Linked DNA regions of Homo sapiens: region 1 is linked to region 2. The links are contacts of gene promoters, found by promoter capture Hi-C in human tissues and cell types (Jung and others, 2019). All regions are on one chromosome and are shown on one strand. Each heading gives the region's core, a stretch centred on a gene start or on the middle of the fragment in contact. The rest is flanking DNA. Distances are from core to core; before and after follow the strand shown. Region 1 holds the start of USP54 (ubiquitin specific peptidase 54). Region 2 holds the start of MYOZ1 (myozenin 1).

Region 1 (5,981 bases), core at 1,536-4,035, 47 kb after region 2:
TAGTTCGCTTTATGTCCAGGAATGAACAAGGACAGCTTGGAAGTTAGAAGCAACAGGGAGTCAAGTAAGTCAGATCTCTTTCACTGTAATAATTTTCTCAGTTATAATTTTTGCAAAGGTGGTTTCACTTACCATGAACTATGGCCATGACTTTTTGCAGTTTGAGGTGTGACAGTAAAACTAGCATGAATTTCCTTTCCTTCTTCACAATGTCATGCATGGATTTGTTCTTATGGTAGACCTTAGCAGCTTTAGTGTATGATTCTTTTTCTTTCCTTATTAAGTCGATAACTTTCACTTTTTCACTTAAAGGAAGCACCTTATGGCTTCTCTATGGCCTGTTAAATTGCCAGTATCACTACTCTTGCATTTGGGAATATTATTAAGTAAAATAAAGTTACTTGAACATAAACACTGAGAAACCCTTTATTCCTTTTTTTTTTTTTTTTTTTTTGAGACAGGATCTCACTCTGTCCAACTCAGACTGGAGTGCGATGGCCTGATCTCAGCTCACTGCAACCTCCACCTCCCAGGCTCAAGTGATTCTCCTGCCCCAGCCTCCTGAGTAGCTGGGATTACAGGCGCGTACCACTACTGCCTGGCTGATTTTTTTTTTGAGACAGAGTCTCACTCTGTCACCCAGGCTGGAGTGCAGTGGTGCGATCTCGGCTCACTGCAAGCTCCGCCTCTCGGGTTCACACCATTCTCCTGCCTCAGCCTCCCGAGTAGCTGGGACTACAGGCGCCCGCCACTACGCCTGGCTAATTTTTTTTGTATTTTTAGTAGAGACAGGGTTTCACTATGTTAGCCAGGATGGTCTTGATCTCCTGACCTTGTGATCTGCCCGCCTCGGCCTCCCAAACTGCTGGGATTACAGGTGTGAGCCACCGTGCCCAGCCTAATTTTTGTATTTTTAGTAGAGATGGGGTTTCACCATGTTGGTCAGGCTGGTCTTGAACTCCTGACCTCAAATGATCTGTCCACCTTGGCCTCCCAAAGTGATGGGATTATAGGCGTGAGCCACTGCACCCGGCCTGTTTTTTTTGTTTTGTTTTTTTTTTTTGAGATGGAGTCTTGGCTCTGTTGCCCAGGCTGGAGTGCGGTGGCACCATCTCAGCTCACTGCAACCTCCGCCTCCTGGGTTCAAGCGATTCTCCTGCCTCAACCTCCTGAGTAGCTGGGATTACAGGCACACGCCACCATGCCCAGCTAATTGTTGTATTTTTAGTCAAGACGGGTTTTTCACCATGTTGGCCAGGCTGGTCTCAAAATCCTAACCTCAAGAGATCCGCCTGCCTTGGCCTCTCAAAGTGTTGGGATTACAGGCGTGAGCCACCGCGCCCGGCTGATTACTTTCTGTAAGACTAGCATTTAGGTAATTCTTTGGTGTGCTTGAGAGGGATTTTCATACTCTTCTTGCTTTCTAGGAGCTTTAAGTCCAGTCCAAGACTTTTAAAAACCCTTGTTCTATAGACAGGGTGGTTAATGTTCATAATGACATAATGCTATTTGATATACTTTTTAGAATTATGCAAGATATAGTTAAATAAATGAATTTAAACAATAATGATGCTATAATTAGAAGCCCAAATGTGTGGCCCCTATCTCCCTCTCTTCTTTAGAGTCCATTTATATGAGAAATATAGAGATTTCTTGTATGATTTTGCTGCTCAGGTCTGTGATTAACAGCCAAAGTTTCTCCAAAATGTATTCTTTGGATCAGTTTTTTTCTCTTCCCTCTACCCTTTCTGCAATATTCCTCTTCTCAGTAATGCATACTTGAGTGAAACAACCAGCTCTTTAAGGTACACATGCTCTGCCAACATTGTGAATAAATCTCAGAATAAAAACTAGAGTCACCTCTGATTGCACAGGGATTGCACCTGTGACTAGCCACTGCACTCCAGCCTGGGCAACATAGTGAGACTCTGTCTTTAAAAGAAAACACCAGTGGGGCTTGGTGGCTCACGCCTGTAATCCCAGCACTTTGGGAGGCTGAGGTGGGTGGATCACCTGAGGTCAGGAGTTTGAGACCAGCCTCGCCAACATGGTGAAACTCCATCTCTACTCAAAATACAAAAATTAGCCAGGTGTGGTGGTGTGCACCTGTAATCCCAGCTACTCTGGAGGCTGAGGTAGGAGAATCACTTGAACCCGGGAGGCAGAGATTGCAGTGAGCTGAGATTATGGCACTATACTCCAGCCTGGGTGACAGAGTGAGACTCTGTCTTCAAACAAAACCAAGATTAAAAAAAAAAAGTTAAAAAAAAACCCACTAGACTCAAATTAGTTATGTAGTTTTCCCTGTTTTTCATCTACTTCATGGTATATTCTTCCTTACAACCTAGAGTCAAAGGCTAGAATATTTTCTCTTAGGTTCCTTATTAGCTAAGATCAAGTCCGTCTCTAATTTTTGTTTGCTAGAACTCCAGTTTAACAGCTCTGAATTAAGCTTCCCCTCTCCCCAGGATCAAATGATAAAGGCTTTCATTTGATATAAAGCAGTCTCTTCCCCACCCCTCCCCACCCCAATCCTCCAGTTTATTTAAAAGTCTCAGCCTAGGTAACATACTAAGACCCTGTCTCCAAAAATCTTTAAAAAATTAGCTGGGTCTGGTTGTACACACCTGTAGTCCCAGCTACTCGGGAGGCTGAGGGTAGAAGATTGCATGAACCCAGGAATTTGAGGGTTCAGTGAGCTGTGATCACACCACTGCATCCAGCCTGGGCAACAGAGGAAGAACCTGTCTCTTAAAAAGTTCCCAAATTTTGTCACTACATTCTAAAATCTAGAGTCTTTTATTGGCTGGGCACAGTGGCTCACACCTGTAATCCCAGCACTTTGAGAGGCTGAGTCAGGTGGATCACTTGAGGTCAGGAGTTCGAGACCAGTCTGGCCAACATGGTGAAGCCCCATCTCTACTAAAAATACAAAAACTAGCTGGGTGTAGTGGCACCTACCTGTAATCCCAGCTACTGAAGAGGCTGAAGCAGGAGAATCACTTGAACCTGGGAAGTGGAGGTTGCAGTGAACCGAGATCGTGTCACTGCACTCCAGCCTGGGTGACAGAGCAAGACTTGGACTCAAAAAAAAAAAGAGTCTTTTATTTTCCAATCTCGTGTTCCTACTGCGGAGCCACTCAGTTCCTGCCTTTACTGCCGACATCAGCATTATCATTAGCATCTCAGAAATAAAAGACAATGATGGTTTGACTTTGGGGTTACTCCAGAGGGAGTTATTTTGGTTTTTCTTAGAGAAATCCTCTGTTTCTCTTTTATGACTTTTAAGAGAAGCAAAATGTTCTTTCAATGCATTGAACATTCTGTTGTACCTTACTCTATTTGCTAGTAGAAACCAATAATGAAAAGCTACGGAATGTGACCAAATAGGACTTTTCAGCCTGTGCTTTTCCATTACCCTCCCCACTACCCTCCAAGGATTTTTCTTGATTGATTTACTCAAATCCTAAATATTGTTTCTCCTTGCTAATAATATTTATATTTTTTCAGAGACCTTTGTCTATTCTGGTCTAAGGTGGACCTATTGTGGTGTTACATATTCCCTGCAAAGTACTTGAAAAATATGACTTGTTAAGTTTTGTTGAAGCACAGTTTTACAAAGTACTGTTGTAACTAGTCATCCAACTTTAGAATACCTGAACATTTAAACTAAAACCCTATTTTAAAAAATAATAATCTGAAACACTATGTATCACTCTCCCTCTTGACGTAGTTAGCAATCATGTACCCAAAACCTTTTCTTTCTATTTTTATTTTTCCTTTTTTTTTTTTTTTTTTGAGACAGGGTCTTGCTCTGTGGCCCAGACTGGAGTGCAGCGACACAATCACTGCTCACTGGGGCCTTGACCTCCTGGGCTCAAGGGATCCTCCCACCTCAGCCTGGAGTAACTGGGACCAGAGAGGTGCGTGCCACCACACCAGGCTAATTAAAAACTTTCTTTCTTTCTTTTTTTTTTTTGTAGAGAAGGGGCCTCCCTGTGTTGCCCAGGCTGGTCTTGAACTCCTGGGCTCAAATGATCCTCCCGCAATGGCCTCCCAAAATGCTGGGATTACAGGCGTGAGCCCCTGCACCCGGCCTATAAAACCTTTTCTACAGGCAGTTTGACACTCACCTAACAAAAACTTGTAGTTACCCAATTTATTTTGAATGGCGAAGCCCAGTGGTTGATACAGGGTTCTCTTTCTATTTGGCACAGAACCTCTTGTGCAGTCTTGAAGAGGGAATAAGAAATGTCTGAAAATAACTTATGCAAGGCAGAATGTGAGTATCATAGCAGAGTTTTATGGGAGGTGTTTTCTGAGGGGCCTCTGGAGAGATTACAATCTATTAGAGTGAGATTTCCCTGTGGATCACTTCCCTTACCTGGATGAGACATGAAAAGTAATGTTGTCTAGTTGTAATCAGGGTTGAAGCTCTGTAACTCTGTCCCAGTACTCTAGTTTTATTTGATTAGTTTCACAATGAATATATACCTATATTTTAATGACTTGATTGAAGAGCTTGGTCTTGATGTTTGTATGTCTTTATTTGCAGTCAGCACTTATCAGTAGAAATTTTGTGTTTCACACTTTGAAATGGCATTACTACCTCCTCCTCCACCTAGCACCACTAGGAGACCTGAGTTAGAATGCTAATGGTTAACAAGAAAAGCAACAGTATCTTTTTTTTTTTTTTTTTTTTTGTGGCACTTTCCTTGTGGCCAAAGGACTACTTCAATTTAATATACTGTATTGTTAAAATGTAAGAGCTTAATTAGTTTTGGACATTGCCCATGTTTGTTAAATTTTACCAATAAATCTTAATTACATCTTTTTTTTAGTCAACTCGTATATTTTCTCTCAACCTATAGAAACACAACAGACCTTCATATTTGGCAAGGATTCTGCTGATGAGTTTTTTTCATCAGTATGCTTATAAAACAACTTCTTTCAATAAAACTGTTTTATAACCTCAGGTAATACATAGAAGGGTGTGTGTTGGTCCTCTGGGGCCTTTGTGCCCTGCCTGCAAATGCAAGTTCTCGGTTGACTGATCACATGTTTGGGGGTGGGACTCTGCCTGCTGTTTGTTCTTGGTGATGTAACTAGGTCTCTTCCCCGAGAGAGGGGTGGAGATCTTTCCCTGTTGTGGACTTTGGGGTTGAGAACCCTTAGATCCCAAGCATTTTAAAATTGACTCAGTAGATTCCAATGGCTCAGTTTAAATAATAATTTTCTTTAATAGTGTGGCTCGTTTAAGACAGTTGGAGGAGTTTTGCCTATTAAAATGATTTGATTTAATTTAAGCCCAGTCTTGGAATTCTGAATTAGGGATTCCAACAATAACATTGTTTTGATTATTCTGTAAACAACTACAAAAATGTTGTCTTCTCGTGCTCCTTTTGACTGCAGTGCAAAGGAATTTTTTTGTGGGGGACTGGCCCTTCTTTGGAAGCAGCAGCCACCCTGCAAACCTTATTGTTTAATGACCTTTGTCATCAGGAATGCCCCAGGAAACAGCTTCATAATTGTTTTTCTTAAGCCTCAGGTGAAGTTTGTGATAACGTCCTTTCAAGTTACTTTTGGTTAGTTTCTTAAGTTTACTTTGTTTTTAATTGGAAGCTCCACCTTTTTAACTTTGTCATGAATTGTCAGTGCTGAGTTCCTGGTAGTTGGTAAAAAGAATTGCCTTCTCTCTGATATCCTGTTCTGCGGGAAGTCCTTGTGGTTTAGATTCACAGTTTCTCATTGTTGCTAGCTACAGTCGTCTCCTCCCTCCTAGCCTTCCCTCCCCACAGCTCTAGCTATTCCCATATCCCTCCCCATTCTTGTATCACTTGCCCCACAGATACCCTCGTGATTAGAGGTCTTTTGCTGGAGGTTGACTGTGCTGTCTGGTAAGTATTGTAGTTGTTGTGGTAAAAACAGATAGATAGAAGATTCAGGAACCGGTTAGTTTTTGTGAAGTTTTCTTTCTTTTA
Region 2 (6,314 bases), core at 850-3,349:
ATCACTTGTGCCCAGGTGTTCAAGTCCAGCCTGGGCAACATAGTGAGACCCCCATCTCTAAAATAAAGAAAGAAATAATTTTTTAAAAAGCCAGCTAGGCACAGTGGCTCACGCCTATAATCCTAGCACTTTGGGAGGCTAAGACAGGAGGATTGCTTGAGCCCAGGTGTTTGAGACCAGCCTGGGAAACATAGTGAAACCCTGTCTCTACAAAACATATGAAAATTAGCTGGGCGTGGTGGCATGTACCAGCAGCCCTAGCTACCTGGGAGGCTGAGGTCGAAGGATTACCTGAGCCTGGGGAGGCTGAGGTTGCAGTGAGCCAAAATTGTGCCACTGCACTTCAGCACAGGCAACAGAGTGAGACCCTGTCTCAAATAAATAAATAAATAAATAAAGCCACTTCCTCAGGTAGCAGCAACAGGGTTGTGGTGGCTGCAGCAGAAGTGCTGCAGCAACTGGTTCCAGAATCTAAGCAGAAGGTGGAGGAAGATCATGCAGCTACTGAAGAAGGGCCTGGGGAAATGATAGGCTTTCCCCAAAGGGGCTTTCAAGCCTGTGGCCCTGCCCAGAGACTCCGCTGGAACAGTACAAATGGCACAGTCCAGATCCTATGTGGTATGTGCTCCCTTTGCAGGAAATCTCAAGTAGAAACCTCAGAGAGCCTGTAATCCCAGCACTTCGGGAGGCTGAGATGGATGGATCACGAGGTCAGGAGATCGAGACTATCCTGGCTAACACGGTGAAACCCCATCTCTACTAAAAATACAAAAAAAAATTTAGCCGGGCGTGTTGGTGGGCGCCTGTAGTCCCAGCTACTCGGGAGGCTGAGGCAGGAGAATGGCGTGAACCTGGGAGGTGGAGCTTGCAGTGAGCCGAGATTGCGCCACTGCACTCCAGCCTGGGCAACAGAGCGAGACTCCGTCTCAAAAAAAAAAAAAAAAAAGAAGAAGAAAAGAAACCTCAGAGAGCCTATATGTGCTTCTCAGGGAGACATCGATGTCTATCCCGCACAGCAGGTTGAACTGAGCATCTCAACAGCAAATGGAGGTTAAAAGGCAGATCCTGGCTGGGCGTGGTGGCTAGAGAATAACTCCTTAGAGACCAGATCCTGGCGGTGGCTCACGCCTGTAATTCCAACATTTTGCGAGGCCAATGTGGGTGGATCACCTGAGGTCAGGAGTTTGAGACCAGCCTGGCCAACGTGGTGAAACCCCGTCTCTACTAAAAATACAACAATTAGCCGGGCATGGTGGTGGACACCTGTAATCCCAGCTACTCAGTAGGCTGAGGCAGGAGAATTGCTTGAACCCAGGAGGTGGAGGTTGCAGTGAGCCGAGATCGCACCACTGCACTCCAGCCTGGGCAAAAAGAGCGAAACTCCATCTCAAAAAAAAAAAAAAAAAAATGCAGATCCAAGTGTTTGTCTTTTATTAAAACTGCCAGAGCTCAAGAGGAAAGAATAGGGAGTGAGGCAGACAGAATAATTGTCAAGTCTTCCCCACATCATTCCTTTGTAGGAGGTACTGGGTTTAGTTAATTTGGTCCCTTAACCTGCCAAGATCTAGCCCTTACCGAGAAAAGACCAACCTATCCAGGAACTTTAAAAGAGCAGTTCCACTGTGAAGACTTCCCTTTTTGTCCCCAAATATAGCACTTTAAGCCCTCCCTGCTCCAAATACACCCACAGGTCTCTCCACTCTGCCCTGGATTGGCTCTGTGTGGCCCTCAGGGCATGTTCCCCAGACTCTCTCTCTCTGACTGAATTCCTATCCAATACTTGCTGTCTACTTCCTGTCTCCCTCTCAGTCTTCAGTTTCTCCCTAAGTGCTTCTTTGGATCTCAGGCTCTAGGTGCAATGTGAAGGGGAGTCCCTGGGCAGACTGATCCCTGGCTCAGACAGTTCAGTGGGAGAATCCCAAAGGCCTTTTCCCTCCTTCCTGAGCCTCCGGGCAAGGAGGGAGGGATCTTGGTTCCAGGGTCTCAGTACCCCCTGTGCCATTTGAGCTGCTTGCGCTCATCATCTCTATTAATAACCAACTTCCCTCCCCCACTGCCAGTGCTGCCCCCACGCCTGCCCAGCTCGTGTTCTCCGGTCACAGCAGCTCAGTCCTCCAAAGCTGCTGGACCCCAGGGAGAGCTGACCACTGCCCGAGCAGCCGGTAAGTCTCCAGCTCTATCGTTAGAAAGGCTGGAGCCCACTGTGTTGACTTCTGTGTCTGTGTCTACAATTGTGATTCTTGATCCTGGGGGAGTCTCCCCTCTCCTCATCTATGCTCAGCTCCCAGCTGTCCAGTTGGAAGGAGAGGGGAAGGAGAGTTGGAAGGAGAGGGGCCCAGGAGGTTGGGGGGAATGGAGATGTCGGGGGAGGCACTGGAAGAATGGGAAGGGAGACCCCACTAAGTCAGTAGAGTTGCAGATGTATTTTTTGAGACAGGACTTAGAAGAGGACAGCATTTCACTGAGTGCCAACTTCTCTTAAGAAGGGATTGGAGTCCATCTTATCCCAGTTTGTCCCTTTCCATTGCCAGATCCTATTACTATGTTTCTGCCCCACCTCAATTCCCCACTGCTATGATATTGCTGAATTGACGTGTCGGGATTTGAATGCTCCCTACCCTTCCCAGTTCCACACCTGCCTCCACTCTGGGGTCTGTGGCGGGAGTGATTGCAGGAGCAGGGCCATGACTTCCCAGGCCATGTTCCAGCTGGCCTGATGAAGGAGCAACAACCTCTCCTTCCTATGGAGAGTGTTTTTGGCTGAATCTCCTCAACCCTGGCAGAATATTTCTCTGTCCTCCTGGGGACTGGGGGAAGACTGAGGAGAGACCAGAGCCTGGAATCACAGCCCCAGTCTGATATCCCAGTGCAAATAAAAACTTCAAATCATGCCAAGCCAATGAAACCTGGGTGCATTGCCCTGCTTGTGTTATTGTTTTTTAAACACTCCCCACACCTAGCTATGTTCCTAATTCCTGCACTGACTCTATGAAAAACAGCTCACAACAGGTTGGTAGACAACAGGGGCTGGTGTGCATCTATACTTCCTGTCCTGTATCCCAAGAAAAGAGAAGCCCTAAAGCGCAAGTTTTCACCTTTTGGGGAAATACATGCTTCTTTGAAAATCTGGGTCAGGTGAAGTGGCTCACCCCTGTAATCTCAGCACTTTGGGAGGCAGGAGGACTGCTTGAGCCCAGGAGTTTGAGACCAGCCTGGGCAACATGGCAAAACCACATTTCTACAAAAAATACAAAAATTAGCCAGGCACGGTGGTGCGCACCTATAGTCCCAGCTACTTGGGAGGCTGAAGTTGGAGGATCACCTGAGCCCAGGGAGGTTGAGGCTGCAGTGAGGCATGATTGTGCCATTGCACTCCAGCCTGGGCGACAGAGTGAGATCCTGTCTCTAAAAAAGAAAAAAAAATTTTTTTGTCCCCTCAAGCCCTTAAACCCAGGTTAAGAAGTGCTGCTCTCCTACAGACACTCACTCTTCCCAGTCCCTGTCCATCCACCAACTCCTCCTTCCCACCCTGTCCAGGCTGAATCCACCTCCACAATGCCGCTCTCAGGAACCCCGGCCCCTAATAAGAAGAGGAAATCCAGCAAGCTGATCATGGAACTCACTGGAGGTAGGACATGTTTGCATCTCCCTAGTGTGGGACTTCTTAAGAGCATCCCTAAACCAAGAGTCCCAGAAATATATATCTTAGGGTGAACAAACAAGAGAAATTAAGTGGTGGGAAGGCGGGTGATGGGGAGTGGGAGAGGGAAGATTAAGAAGGGTAAGGAGAAAGAGAGAAAAGATTCAACACCTTCTACCCTTTTCACTTCATAATCTGAGACAATACCCTGCCATGTTACCTGCACAGGTCCAGGACCACAGGACCCATGAGTCAGTGAGGTATATTTGAGGAAGAAAATATAATGGAGACTGGCACAGACTCAGGTCTCAATAAGTGGTTAATTTCCCTTACTTCTTTCCCCAGAGCTAGGGAGCTTGTGTAAGTACTTAAAATGGAAAACTGCACAGGCATGTTTCCTGGGGGTGGGCAGGGGTGCATGCATGTGAAGAGCTCTTCAATACCTAGAGACTCTTTGGAGCCAGAGCTCACTGAGGGAAAGAAAAGGGAAAGTAGTTAAGACAGAAGTCTGGGCCAGGTGCAGTGGCTCACGCCTGTAATCCCAGAACTTTGGGAGGCCAAGGCTGGTGGATCGCTTGAACTCAGGGGTTTGAGACTGGCCTAGGCACATGGTAAAACCTCGTCTCTACAAAAAGTACAAAAATTAGCCAGGTGTAGTGGCATGTGCCTAGAGTCCCAGCTACTCCAGAGGCTGAGGTGGGACGATCGCTTGAACCCGGGAGGTGGAGGCTGCCGTGAGCCATGATTGCGACGCTACCCTCCAGCCTGGGTGACAGAGTTCATCCTAAGATATATTTATTTTGTCTCAAAATAAATAATACAAATAGGGCTGGGGCTGTGTCTCATACCTGTAATCGCAGCACTTTGGGAGGCTGAGGTGAGAGGACCACTTGAGCCCAGGAGTTCAAGACCAGCCTGGACAACATAATGAGACCTCATTTCCATTAAAAAAAAAAAAAAAAAAAAAGTCCAGGCGTGGTGGCTCATGCCTGTAATCCCAGCACTTTGGGAGGCTGAGGTGGGCCAATCATCTGAGGTCAGAAGTTCAAGACCAGCCCGGCCAACATGGTGAAACCCTGTCTCTACAAAAATAGAAAAATTAACTGGGCATGGTGCCGGGTGCCTGTAATCCCGGCTACTTGGGAGACTGAGGGAGGAGAATCACTTGAACCCAGGAGATGGAGGTTGCAGTGAGCTGCAATCGCGCCATTGCACTTCAGCCTGGGAGACAGAGCAAGTCTCTGACTCAATAAATAAATAAATAAATAAATAAATAAATAAATAAATAAATAAAATGTAGGCTGGGCGCCACGGCTCACGCCTGTCATCCCAGCATTTTGGGAGGCCGTGGCTGGTAGGTCAGTTGAGCTCAGGAGTTTGCGACCAGCCTGGCCAACATGGTGAAACCCCATCCCTACCAAAAAATATAAAAATCAGCCAGGGATGGTGGTGCAGGCCTGCAATCCCAGCGACCTGGGAGGCTGAGGCAGGAGAATTGCTTGAACCTGGGAGGCGGAGGCTGCAGTGAGCTGAGATCGCGCCATTCCACTCCAGCCTGGATGATAGAGCAGGACTCTGTCTCAAAAAAATGAAAAAAAAGAATAAAAAATAAAAACAAATATATATATATATATATATATGGCATCTGTATTTGGACTCCACACAAGATTGGCCTCTGGGTTTTTCCTGATGCCATGGTTTCTCCAATGGCCTCCATCTATGATGTTCCTTTACTCCTTTTGCTCTGTACCCCATGCCCGTACCTCTTTTACCCCATTGGCCTCTCCACTCTAGTATTCCCATTATCTCCACAGTGCACCCCAGTTCCCATGCATTCTCTCCAAGTCCCAGGAAATCAAAATCCCTCACAAACTAGACAGCATTTGTTCCCCTAAATGACCTCTGCCAGGACACACATACACACTTAGTTGTGGATGAGGTCTGCATTCTGAGCCCAGAAAACCCTACTTTCCTCTTTCCCTTGATTCTTCTTCTTTGCCTCCCTGAAAGGTGGACAGGAGAGCTCAGGCTTGAACCTGGGCAAAAAGATCAGTGTCCCAAGGGATGTGATGTTGGAGGAACTGTCGCTGCTTACCAACCGGGGCTCCAAGATGTTCAAACTGCGGCAGATGAGGGTGGAGAAGTTTATTTATGAGAACCACCCTGATGTTTTCTCTGACAGCTCAATGGTGAGTCTGGAACTTTATCACTATCTCAAAGCCTGGTGCCTGTTCTGACAGCTTGTTAGTAGGCCCTGAACCTCCAAAATGCAGTCAACATCCCCTCCCTGAAAATTTATAAATTTGTTAAACCCCCAGATATATTGAGCCCGCAACAGCTCCAGGGTGAGTTACAGCCCACCTCTGAAACCCAGTTTTCATCATAGAGCCACTGAAGGGTTGGAGAATACCACACCCTTAGGGAGAAAATTCCTTCCCAGTAAAGGTAAGTGTTAAAGATAGATTGCCAGATAAAACACAGGATGCCCAGTGGGGCAGTCCAGTCTTGTATTTTGAAGTTGAGATACACAATGAATAATTTTTTAGTGAAGTATGCTCCATGCAATATTTGGGACATAAAGATAAAAATTTAAAAAAATTTTAGAAAGAAGATAAGGCAGCCAGGCATGGTGGCTCACACCTGTAATCCCAGCACTTTGGGAGGCCGAGGCAGG

The links. Contacts are between HindIII fragments. The study calls those that stand out against the background at their distance.
Region 1: a fragment that was not itself captured here is called in contact with the fragment with the promoter of MYOZ1 in region 2 in 1 of the 25 tissues and cell types used here (IMR-90 fibroblasts).

What each region holds. Positions count from the first base shown.
Region 1 is chr10:73,591,194-73,597,174 of GRCh38, reverse strand. It overlaps USP54 (ubiquitin specific peptidase 54), which reads left to right and starts at 5,833. Exons shown (of 24, transcript NM_001391956.1): 1 at 5,833-5,897. RefSeq lists an enhancer at 4,800-5,550. The HindIII fragment of the contact is 7,322 bases long and covers 1-5,981 here.
Region 2 is chr10:73,637,259-73,643,572 of GRCh38, reverse strand. MYOZ1 (myozenin 1) reads left to right here and starts at 2,099. Exons shown (of 6, transcript NM_021245.4): 1 at 2,099-2,162; 2 at 3,538-3,628; 3 at 5,651-5,829. The coding sequence starts at 3,556. The HindIII fragment of the contact is 11,584 bases long and covers 1-6,314 here.